Regions from separate parts of the Homo sapiens genome. Here all the other regions are linked to region 3. Evidence: promoter capture Hi-C in 16 types of primary human blood cells and fetal thymus (Javierre and others, 2016). All regions are on one chromosome and are shown on one strand. Each heading gives the region's core, a stretch centred on a gene start or on the middle of the fragment in contact. The rest is flanking DNA. Distances are from core to core; before and after follow the strand shown.

Evidence for each region. The method cuts DNA at HindIII sites, captures the fragments that hold promoters and counts their contacts. A CHiCAGO score of 5 or more calls a contact.
Region 1: the fragment with the promoter of VWA8 here is called in contact with the fragment with the promoter of DNAJC15 in region 3 in 2 of 17 cell types (activated CD4 T cells and fetal thymus); the score reaches 6.8 in activated CD4 T cells.
Region 2: the fragment with the promoter of TSC22D1 here is called in contact with the fragment with the promoter of DNAJC15 in region 3 in 11 of 17 cell types (non-activated CD4 T cells, monocytes, total CD4 T cells and 8 more); the score reaches 11.8 in non-activated CD4 T cells.

What each region holds. Positions count from the first base shown.
Region 1 is chr13:41,959,564-41,963,457 of GRCh38, reverse strand. VWA8 (von Willebrand factor A domain containing 8) reads left to right here and starts at 2,349. Exons shown (of 45, transcript NM_015058.2): 1 at 2,349-2,605. The coding sequence starts at 2,443. It overlaps VWA8-AS1 (VWA8 antisense RNA 1), which reads right to left and starts at 2,289. Exons shown (of 4, transcript NR_039974.1): 1 at 1,224-2,289. RefSeq lists a silencer at 2,270-2,679 and enhancers at 2,880-3,019, 3,115-3,615, 3,616-3,894. The HindIII fragment of the contact is 5,183 bases long and covers 1,837-3,894 here.
Region 2 is chr13:44,574,877-44,578,873 of GRCh38, reverse strand. TSC22D1 (TSC22 domain family member 1) reads left to right here and starts at 2,544. Exons shown (of 3, transcript NM_183422.4): 1 at 2,544-3,997. The coding sequence starts at 2,800. It overlaps TSC22D1-AS1 (TSC22D1 antisense RNA 1), which reads right to left and starts at 2,978. Exons shown (of 3, transcript NR_038381.1): 1 at 2,604-2,978; 2 at 1,697-1,832; 3 at 1-772. RefSeq lists silencers at 852-901, 1,082-1,281, 1,552-1,791, 1,802-2,511 and an enhancer at 2,832-3,071. The HindIII fragment of the contact is 6,017 bases long and covers 4-3,997 here.
Region 3 is chr13:43,020,981-43,024,843 of GRCh38, reverse strand. DNAJC15 (DnaJ heat shock protein family (Hsp40) member C15) reads right to left here and starts at 1,258. Exons shown (of 6, transcript NM_013238.3): 1 at 1,110-1,258. The coding sequence starts at 1,217. RefSeq lists enhancers at 760-809, 1,320-1,369, 1,380-1,439. The HindIII fragment of the contact is 4,162 bases long and covers 1-2,068 here.

The DNA.
Region 1 (3,894 bases), core at 1,100-3,599, 1.1 Mb after region 3:
AAAGTTAAGCTCAGGTGCTGCCTTTTCTCAGGCTCAAAGTTTTCCTCCCCATTGTAGCTTTGTCACTCTAAAAAACCTTCACCATTTTTCCATTTCCTGGAGGTTAATGTGCAAACTCCTTCTCTTGGCATACAACATGGCCCCAGATTCTCTTTCTGGTCTTATTCTTACAAACTGTTGTATATACTTGACCTCTAGACACACTGAATCACTCTCTGGTTCTCAATCATGCCCTGCACTTTCAGCTGTTTCTTTCTCTCTCTCTCTGTACATGATCTGTCTGCCAGATTTGACTTGTCTCAGCCTGACAAACTCTTGTATAATATATCCTACATGAATCATTTCAAACACTACCTTCTCTGTGAAGACTCCAGGTGCAGCAATCCACTCCACAGTATGTTGAACCTAAATCTCTTGACACGTGTCTCACTGTATTGCAATTCTTTATTTGCATATTTATCATCAATACCTAATGTGAGCCCATTGATTCACAGTATCTAGCAGGGTACTGTTTATACAGCAGTTACTCAATAAATGTTGTCGTTGGGAGGCTGAGGCAGGAGGATCACTTGAGGCCAGGAGCTTGAGACCAGCCTGGGCAACATAACAAGACTCCACTGCTACGAAAACAAAAACACAAAAATTAGCCAGGCACAGTGGTGCACGCCTGTAGTCTCAGCTACTAGGGAGGCTGAAGCAGGAGGATCACTCGAGCCCAGGAGTTCGAGGTTGCAATGAGCTATAATACTGCCGCTGCACCCCAGCCTGGGCAACAGAGTGAGACTTTGTCTCTAAAAAAAATAAAACTAGGCAAAAAATGTTGTTGAATGCTCTAACTTGTGTTGATCTCTCCATTGTCTTAACTCCAAGAGCTCTTAGTGCTTATATCAACCACTTTGCAAAATTGCCTTAGGTTGTTCTCCCATTCTTTCAGGTGTCTACTGAGTTCCAGCGAGATTAAATGGAGATATCTTGACCAAGGTATTCAATTCTTCTAGCCTCAGTTTCTTCATCTGTAAAACGGAGGATAATAATAGTACCTCAAAGCATTTTTATGTGAAATGGGATAATTCATTAAAATCTTGATACATACAATGTGCTCAAAGTAGGAAAAGCATTTTATAAGCTTACATCCTAAATTTATGTCTTAGGGTTGCTATGAGGATTAAATGAGAAGATACACATGAAACGAAGTCATAATATATTGTGTAACTACTTATTACCTTTATTTTCACTGTCTCCTCATCTAGGTTAGAAGCCTGGTTCAGCCTTCATTCCTCAAGTTCTTCCGCTGGATGCCCAAAGCCTTCCTTACCTAGCCTTGTTTGACTTTTACAGTCTCCACTCTAACACTCTCTTCTCAGCACTCATCACAGGGTCAGGCGCAGGGTAGGTGCTATGTATTTAGACAGTGGCAGCTCTAGAATTAGCAAGGTCTTTAGCTGAAAGTGAGGTCTTCTGCCTTCTTTTTGATGTTTGCTTGTATAACTTGTCTCAAATATTTTGCCTTAGTCAATTCACTGTGACATTTTGGGGATGCAGTCTAATTACATTAGGCTTAGTTTGCTTTGTGGTAGGACCATTTCCGATGTTGGAATGTACAAGAGGGAGGCAGCCTTAGCCAGTGTCCTACTTTTTCCTTTACTAAAGACATAAATCATCTTTATATAACTTTTGTATTACAGCATGACTAGAAAAGTGCTTGATCTGGATCCTTTCTGATATTTAAGCAATTTCCATCTATCACTAAGATGTGAATTTTTTCCTTAGAATTTAGGAAGCGGTAATAAAACACAGAAACAAACAACCACCACCAAAAGGACAAAGGGTAAAGCTTTCACGTACGGTTTGGAAACACTAGTGTGGTTACAATGAATCAAGACAGTTGTGAAAGTTCCCATCATCTTGTGCATGTTTTCTCCATTTCCGAAATCTGAAGCCGAATACAGGGAAAGCTCCCTATACTTACTGGGCCTTTAACTAAGAAACGAAGACTTGGGGCAAGCATCTGAAGAGTCACACCGACAAATGCTCCTAAAACCCTTGGCATTTACTGAACTCCTGAGATTCTGTGGGATCGCAGGGAAACGGCGGGTGAAGGCCTGGTGCATCCAGGTGAACAGACAGTCTCACGGACTGCGAGGCGCTTGCCAGAGCCCAGCGCCGCAGCTCGGAGCACCCCCGCGGTGCGGGCAGTCCCGGGACGGTGCCGGCTCTTTGGGCTGGAGCTCCGCAGGCTCTTTCCGCCCGTCTGGGCCATGCAGGGCCGGGTAGGGCCGGGCTGAGTCTACTGAGCCGGCCGCGCCGCGGGGGAAGGAGTTTCCGGCGGACTCGGCTAGGTGCCGCTTCCTGTCCCCTTCTCCGCGCTGCCTCACGGTGCCTGCACGGGACGCCGCTCGATCCCCGAGCCCCCTCGCCGTCCCCGACAGCCCCCCCGGCGCCATGCAATCCCGGCTTCTACTCCTCGGGGCACCCGGAGGCCACGGCGGCCCGGCCTCGCGGCGCATGCGGCTGCTCCTGCGGCAGGTGGTGCAGCGCAGGCCGGGTGGCGACAGGCAGCGGCCGGAGGTCAGACTGTTGCACGCCGGCTCGGGGGCCGACACAGGTAACTCGGGGTGCGCCCCTGTCCTCCCTGGTGCCCCTGCGCTCCGTGCCGGGTCCCCGCGCGCCCCCGCCCCTCCTCTCTGTTGCTTCGCTGCGCTTGGAAGGACCGTTTGCCGAGCGGGGAGCTGAAAGATTGAGGTTCTAGTCCCGACCTCGGCGCTAACTGCTGTGTAACGTGGGGGCAAGGCGCTCGCCCTCTCTGTGCCTGATTCTGCAACCCGAGGGGTCTGGACTAAGGTTTCTGATGACCTAGAAGAGTGATTTCTCCTTCCCCTGCCGCTGCCTTTACCCCCAGAATTCTGACTTAGGTTATAATACTCGTAGAGGTTAATGCCTCAGCCCTATGGAATTATTGAAAGCTGGATTTGACCTTGCTCTCTGAGCCTCAAGGGCCTGGAAGCCGGTCTGTGTCATGTTCTAGCCAGGGCTTGTGGCGGCTTAGAAGGGAACATTCTTGCCAAAGAACCCATAGTTCACGGTGTTTTAAATGCATCCCCGAGCCTTTCCAAGTTTTACAGGAGTTTTCCTTAAAGTTTCACGTAATTCTTAGAGCTGACAGTTACACCTTAATTTAGTTAAAACACTTGCCTCTACAAATGAGGTAATTGAAACCCAGAAGGGAAAAGTGATTCGCTGGAGAACACACAACTAATTACTATGCTAGAATCACATGCTTTGATTTCTAAGCTCAGTATTTTTTGGCTCTACTTGAGCTGGTTTTAGGAATTCTTTTTCTTGTGTGTTGGTGGAGTTAGAGTTACTGTGATGGTTAAGGAAAGGATATCTGTTGTTGCTACCCTTGAATGGTGAAGTGATTCCAGACAAGATTTTGTCAATGTCAGTGCTGCTTGGAATAACAGGTTTTCACTATGAAATTGTAGGTTTCGTTGTCCTCTTGCATTTTCCCCGCAACCCCCAGTTTTCCTTGCTAAGAAATGAGCATATGGGCCGGGCGCGGTGGCTCACGCCTGTAATCCCAGCACTTTGGGAGGCTGAGGCGGGCGGATCACGGGGTCAGGAGATCGAGACCATCCTGGCTAACACGGTGAAACCCCCGTGTCTACTAAAAAGAAAATACAGAAAAATTAGCCGGGCGTGGTGGCGGGCGCCAGTAATCCCAGCTACTCCGGAGGCTGAGGCAGAAGAATGGCGTGAACCCGGGAGGCGGAGCTTGGAGTGACCGGAGCCACTGCACTCCGGCCTGGGCGACAGAGCAAGACTCCATCTCAAAAAAAAAAAAAAAAAAAGCATATTTAGGTCCCACGTATTTCGTTTTATTCATTGAAGACA
Region 2 (3,997 bases), core at 1,295-3,794, 1.6 Mb before region 3:
GCTTCCCCTTGGAACAAGGGGAAGAGTTCAGAGAAAACTAAAGGTAAAAAGTTGAACTGACAACTAGAGGTGTATCAAAACTGCAAATGACAATCGTTTTTGCTTTAACAATCTTCTGAAATAGGAATGTAAATCCTTGAGACTTCCTGAATCAGAGGTCTAACCATAAGCGTTGATTCCCCTAACAACCTAAATTTAACAAAATGAAAATTCCTCCCTACAGTTTTTCGGCTTGCTTTATCATTTTTAAATTCCTGGGAAAGACTTACATTCTCGATTATTGGTAAGAAACGCTTAGAACTAGGTTTTGACATGAAATACCAAGAAAGTAACCGCCAGTAAATTGCCCCCAATCAAACCTAACATTGCTTCTGTAGAACTACATTTGGACCCATGAAATGTAACGTGTGTGTGTGTGTGTATTTTAAAACTGGAATTTCGGATGGCTTTTTCTTTTCTAGCCCTAAAAGGCATTCTTATCATTTGTGTTGCTCACATGTCCGGACCACCTTGCCTCCTGAGTCAAACCAATGGGGGATATAGCCAGGACGATGAACGAAAAAGGCGTCGCTGCTTGGAGACACCTGTTGAGGTCAGTCGATTACAGGGCCGGCCTGCTTCTGTCCTCCAGTTAAGGATGGATTGCAACCACTCCTCGTTAGAGAAGAGCCTAGCCCAGAGGAGCTCAGGCAGTTAACTGGAAACAGCTGCAACATCTGCCCGGCCGCCTCGCCCCTGCCCGTGGAAGGGCGAGGGGACCGCATGGCAGCAACTGCACTGCACAAAAGACAACACCTATCACCGGGAGCCACCGGCCTTCCATAGACCCCACAGCTCCCGGCCCTAGGGCATCCCCCGAGGAGGCAAGGGCCGGGGGCGAGCCCAGGTGCGGCGAGGGGGAGGAGGTTTCCGCCACGCGCCAGGGAAGAAAGCCTGACTCATGTCGTGGCAGCGGCAGCAGCCGCGGCGGCGGGCTCCTGGGAACTGAAACTCGTGATGCTGTTGCTGCGGAGAAAAGCCTCATTACCCATTCCGCAGGCGGGGGACACCACCCAAGGCGCGCACACCAAGCGCCGGCGCTCCCGCCGCCTCCGCCGGCCCTTCCGCGCCGCGCCCCCTCCTCTGCCGCGTGCCCGCGCGCGCCGGCCGCGAGTGTGAAAAGAGCGGACACACCTAACCTGGGCGCGCGGCAGGCGCGCACCCTGCCCGCCCCCACCGGGCCGAATCACGCAGTCCGACCCGGATTCGCTCCTTCGGCCGGAATTCCCCACCCCCACTATCCCCTCCGGCTCCACCACTCCCGGCTTCGGCGCCTCTGCCAGCCTTCGGTAATTTCCGTCGGGAGACCTGGCGCTCGCCTAGGCCCGAAGACCCGCCGCCTCCTGCCCCGCCAGACCCGGCTTTATGTCTGCGGCGCCGAGGCGCATGCGCAGACGCCATCTTCCCTCCTCCTCCTCCGCCTGCCCCCTCCCCCCAGCCACCACCGCCTCCTCTCGCCGGCGGTCGCCCCTCCTCCTCCTGCGCTCCGCGCTGGTCCCTCCCCTCCCGATGCCGCGAGAGACTGGGGGATACGGTGGAGCCGGGGGAGCCGAAGAAGAGCACTAGTAACAACCACCACAGCCCCCTCCCCGCCCGACACCCTCCCTCGGCACCCACTCACTCCCCCGCCCCGTTTGCCGACACCGACCAACCCCACCTCGTTCCTTTGAACGGCGTCGGCTGCAGTCGCTGCACCAGCCCGTCTGGCCACCAACGCCGCGGAGAAAGGAGCCGCCGCCGCCTGCGGCCCTCTCCCGCCCGGTCGCGGGAGCAGCGGGGTGAGGAAGAGCCGGCTGCGGAGGAAGAGGATAAGAGAGGGTCGCACCCTCCGCCCTAGCGCACGTCCCGCCGCCCTCCGGAGAGGCTCGGGTGCCGGCCCCTTCCTCCCCGAGGACGTGTGCCGAGTCGAGGCGCCTGCCCTGAGGGAGGAAAATGCTCGGGCTCCATGGCTGCCAGTGATGGAGCGGTCCCTGGGCTCCCGCTGCCACCGCCGCCGCCGCGCCCCGGCCGTGCTCCGCGAGGACCCGGCGTCTCTGCGCGCCCGCCCGCGCCTCGTTGCTGGGCTCACCGTACCGGGCGCCTCGCCGCCGCCCCGCTCGCAGCCGCGTCGCCCCGGCCCCAGCCGCGGCCAGCGTTTCCTCACCGAGCAGCCGCCGCGAGCCCAGGGGGTTTGAAAGGGTCTGCGGGGCGCGGGGGGAGGGCCGAGCGGGGCCGGGAGGGGAGGTTTGAGCGACACTGAGCTCGGGGCTCGCTGGCGGCGGCGGCGGCCCCGGGGGTGGCGAGGGGAAGGCGACATTTGCTTGGCGCTGCCTCCGTGCAGAGCGGCCGGGAGGGCTTTGCAGCGGCCGCCGACGCGGCGGGAGGAGGGGGCTGAGGCGGCTTCGGAGTTGGCCGGAGAAGGTGGGCATTTCTCGCTTTTCCTCCCCTTCCTGCGCTCTCCCCCTCCCTCCTGCCCCGCACCCCACGTGAAGCAGAATATAAAGGGGGGTGTGAGGCTAGAGGGGAAAGTGAATGGCGAAGGACTGAAGGGATCCCCCCTTCGGGTCCCCGGCCGCCCTGTTCACCCTCGTTCATCCTCCTTTCCGAAGCTCGCTCTCGAAGGCAGGAGCGACCGGCGCCTTTGGCTGAGGAGGAGGAGAAGGAGGAATCGCGCCAGGCGGAGCGTCAGGTCCCGTTTTCCTCTCCGGCGTCTCCAATACAAAGATTACGGTGCAGAAGGAAATTGCACTCGTCTCCTCCGCGCCCCCGGTACCCAACACAATGCACCAGCCGCCTGAGTCCACCGCCGCGGCCGCCGCCGCTGCAGACATTAGCGCTAGGAAGATGGCGCACCCGGCAATGTTCCCTCGAAGGGGCAGCGGTAGTGGCAGCGCCTCTGCTCTCAATGCAGCAGGTACCGGCGTCGGTAGTAATGCCACATCTTCCGAGGATTTTCCGCCTCCGTCGCTGCTTCAGCCGCCGCCCCCTGCAGCATCTTCTACGTCGGGACCACAGCCTCCGCCTCCACAAAGCCTGAACCTCCTTTCGCAGGCTCAGCTGCAGGCACAGCCTCTTGCGCCAGGCGGAACTCAAATGAAAAAGAAAAGTGGCTTCCAGATAACTAGCGTTACTCCTGCTCAGATCTCCGCTAGTATCAGCTCTAACAACAGTATAGCAGAGGACACTGAGAGCTATGATGATCTGGATGAATCTCACACGGAAGATCTCTCTTCTTCGGAGATCCTTGATGTGTCACTTTCCAGGGCTACTGACTTAGGGGAGCCCGAACGCAGCTCCTCAGAAGAGACCCTAAATAACTTCCAGGAAGCCGAGACACCTGGGGCAGTCTCTCCCAACCAGCCCCACCTTCCTCAGCCTCATTTGCCTCACCTTCCACAACAGAATGTTGTGATCAATGGGAATGCTCATCCACACCACCTCCATCACCACCATCAGATTCATCATGGGCACCACCTCCAACATGGTCACCACCATCCATCTCATGTTGCTGTGGCCAGTGCATCCATTACTGGTGGGCCACCCTCAAGCCCAGTATCTAGAAAACTCTCTACAACTGGAAGCTCTGACAGTATCACACCAGTTGCACCAACTTCTGCTGTATCATCCAGTGGTTCACCTGCATCTGTAATGACTAATATGCGTGCTCCAAGTACTACAGGTGGAATAGGTATAAATTCTGTTACTGGCACTAGTACAGTAAATAATGTTAACATTACTGCTGTGGGTAGTTTTAATCCTAATGTGACAAGCAGCATGCTTGGTAATGTTAATATAAGTACAAGCAATATTCCTAGTGCTGCTGGTGTGAGTGTTGGGCCTGGAGTTACCAGTGGTGTTAATGTGAATATCTTGAGTGGCATGGGCAATGGTACTATTTCTTCCTCTGCTGCTGTTAGCAGTGTTCCTAATGCAGCTGCAGGGATGACTGGGGGATCGGTTTCAAGTCAGCAGCAACAAC
Region 3 (3,863 bases), core at 9-2,508:
CCTCAAGTGATCCTCCTGCCTGGGCTTCCTAAAGCGCTGGGATTACAAGCCTAAACCACCACTTGGGCAATATTTCATATTGAATGTTGAAAATTACCATGCAACTGTGCATATATCAGGTTAAAGAAAATACATGGTTAAAATCAAACCCACCTGTTTCTCTTCAGTTGTTTAATATGGCTACAAAAAACTTAAAAATATGCCGGACGCGGTGGCTCACGCCTGTAATCCCAGCACTTTGGGAGGCCGAGGCGGGCGGATCACGAGGTAAGCAGATCGAGACCATCCTGGCTAACACGGTGAAACCCCCGTCTCTACTAAAAATACAAAAAATTAGCCGGGAGTGGTGGCAGGCGCCTGTAGTCCCAGCTACTTGGGAGGCTGAGGCAGGAGAATGGCCTGAAACCGGGAGGCGGAGCTTGCAGTGAGCCGAGATCGCGCCACTGCACTCCAGCCTGGGCGACAGAGCGAGACTCCGTCTCAAAAAAAAAAAAAAAAAAAAAAAACGTAAAAATACGTATGTGGCTCACAATATGCTTCTGTTGGACAGTTTTCTGTTAGACCCTTCCTTTTTCCAGCTCTACAGTTCATCCTGAATACACCACTTGGAGTTTCCAACTGGGCCCTGTTTCTGTGCCGGAGACTTTGGAGACAGTAGTCCTGGTACCCGAAACACTTTTTCCCCTTCTCCTTGCTGAATGGACTGTTTTTATTCATTCAGATCTTAATTTTTAACTACAGCTTTCTCCAAGAAGCGTCCCTGATCCCACCACGTCCCCTGCAAGACGTTTTTAGGGCCTCCTATGAGATAGGAAAATCCACATACAGCACTTATTTTACTGTATTTGCAATTGCCTGTTTTCTGGTTTGTGTCCCAGACAAGACTGGAAGCTCCTTGAGGAGACAGATCCTCAGAACTGCTCCGTCTTCCACGCCCAGGCGTCAAAGCCCAGCACAAAGCGGTCTCTCCACTGAACAAGTGAGCGCTAGGGCACAGACCGTGAGCGAATGCGGGGGAGTACAAAGGTTCAAGGGTGAGGCGGTAGAGGGGGCTGAAGCAGAAACTACAAGGGAGCCAGAGAGGGGTGGGGGCCGCTGGCAGGACTCACCAGTCTCTGCTGGTCGACGTCGGCGTCTGGCCGTTTGGCCGAGGGCTGCAAGTACTCAGCGTAGCGCAAACTCTCGCCAACTGGAGCGATGACACCACGGGCAGCCATGGCAAGGCGGCCCGGAGACTCAAGGCGCCGCGGCAGTGACTACGAGGCGGCCGTAGGGACAAACTAGTTAGCGCGGTTTCTTCTCGCAGATCCAGTGGACTCTGCGCTCGTTGTGCTATTAAAGGCGAGGTTCCCGGAAGATACCCTTCTCACCCGAGCTGGGTAACGTGTCCCGTGCAAGCACGGGGTCACACTCCGAAAGGAGCCAAGGGCACTGGGACGTTCTTGAATCACACTCACAGGCGCAAAGCCAACGCGGACCCTCAGGGAGCTTTATATACTTGGGCCTGGTCCCTCCCCAGGCCGCCGTAAGGGACTGGGCTTAAGCCCTGCGAACTGATGTTGGTCGAATCAGATGACTGCCCAGTAAGCTCGGAGTCTAGCTGTAGTGCCTGAGGGTGGGCTTGCCTGAGCTTTCCTGACCCCCTTCCGGGCAGCCTTTCTTCCCACTCTCAACTTCTGTTCGCACTTCTGTTTAATGCCACAGTTCTACCACCCCGGGAGAGAAATTAAAGAGGCAATTTGCTTACTCCACCCCCAAGTAAATGGCTGTATTTAAGGTGAAATTACACAGAAGAAAGTTGTGGCCGGGTGCGGTGGCTCACGCTGTAATCCCAGCACTTTGGGAGACCGAGGCGGGTGGATCACACCAGCTTGGCCGACATGGTGAAACCTCGTCTCTACTAAAAATACAAAGATTAGCTGGGTGTGGTGGTGCGTCCCTGTAATCCCAGCTACTCAGGAGCCTGAGGCAGGGGAAAAAAAGTTGTGAGCAAGTAGGTAAATCTTACTCTCCCTCAAATGAGTTTGTGCTGATTTGTATATATAAAAGCCCATTTTATTATTAAGCTTTTTTTTTTTTTTGAGATGGAGTCTCGCTCTGTTGCCCAGGCTGAGTGCAGTGGCGCAATCTCTGGCTCACTGCACCCTCTGCCTCCCGAGTACCTGGGATTAAAGGCACGTGCCACCACACCTGGCTAATTTGTGTATTTTTAGTAGAGACGAGGTTTCACCATGTTGGCCAGGCTGGTCTCAAACTCCTGACCTCAGGTGATCCGCCCGCTTCAGCCTCCCAAAGTGCTGAGATTACAGGCGTGAGTCACCGCGCCTGGCCTCCATCAAGTTTTTAGAGCAAAAATTAACCAGCAGTTGAAGCGTATGGTGTTTTCCAACTTCTGTACCAACGTGGCAGCTCTTTGGCTCCTTATACCCTTTGCAAAATCAGCTGACAGGAAGAAAAAGCTTTATTTTTTTTCTATTCCTGAATTTAAAGTTTTGAGGGTCTATTAATTTGTTCACTTAGTTAATATTATTAGCATGTCTAAGAAGTTAGGTCCTAGAAATTTACAATCTTGTAGGGAAGATAACACTGACACAGAATAATAGTACATACCAGAACATGAGCACATGCATTGCATAGCAGTATAAAGAGAACTGGACTGGGAATTAAACCGCCATTGCAAAATTACAACTGAGAAAGAGATCTGACCTAATCAACACCATCTTGCTTCTAACCTCCAAGCTGTCTTGTACATTCCTGGCCGTAGGCCAAACTAACTTTGGGAGGAATGTAATTCATAGTTTATAGTTTGAAACAAAGATGATAAAAGCCCTTTCCCAAAACAAACCTCCTTCTTGCCTGGGGACTAGACTGCCTTTGTAGGACTAACAAATTAGCCACAAGATCAGAAATTATGACTTAGGAGTCATGCAGCTGGAGGCTACAAGATTCTGACCCTCCCCAAATTGCTGCTGGAGCTAACATCACTATTGTAAAAACTACCACCAGTGCTTGAGATATTTTGCAGACCCCGCACTTGATGAATCAGCTGGCATCACCCAGATCGATAAACTGGCTCATCTGATCTCGTGGCCCCCACCCAGGAACTGATAACGCAAGACAACTTGGACTCCCTGTGATTTCATCTTTGACCTGACCAATCAGCACTCCCAGCTCACTGGCTTCCCCCTACTCACCGAGTTGTCCTTAAAAATTCTGATCCCCAGCTGGGCGCGGTGGCTCATGCCTGTAATCCCAGCACTTTGGGAGGCCGAAGGTGGGTGCATCATGAGGTCAAGAGAGTGAGACCATCCTGGCCAACATGGTGAAATCCCATCTCTACTAAAAATACAAAAATTAGCTGGGCGTGGTGGGTGCCTGTAGTCCCAGCTACTCGGGAGGCTGAGGCAGGAGAATCGCTTGAACCTGGGAGGCAGAGGTTGCAGTGAGCAGAGATCGCGCCACTGCACTCCAGCCTGAGGACAGAGTGAGACTCCGTCTCAAAAAAATAATAATAATAAATAAATAAATAAAAAATTCTGATCCCTGAATGCTCTGGGAGACTGATTTGAGTAATAATGAAACTCCAGTCTCCTGCACAGTCAGCTCTGCATGAATTACTCTTTCTCTATTGCAATTACCCCGTCTTTATAAATTTGGCTCTGTCTAGACAGCCAGCAAAGTAAACCCATTGGGTGGTTACAGGAATAAGGAAGACATCTGAGTTCTAGTGTACCTCCATTATTTTCTGGGCTTGTATAACTGAACATATCCATTAACCTCTCCAAATTACCTGTAAAAGGAGAATAACATTTGTCCAACATTCTGACTCAGGGAAGTTGTGCAAACAAATATAAACCTCAAAG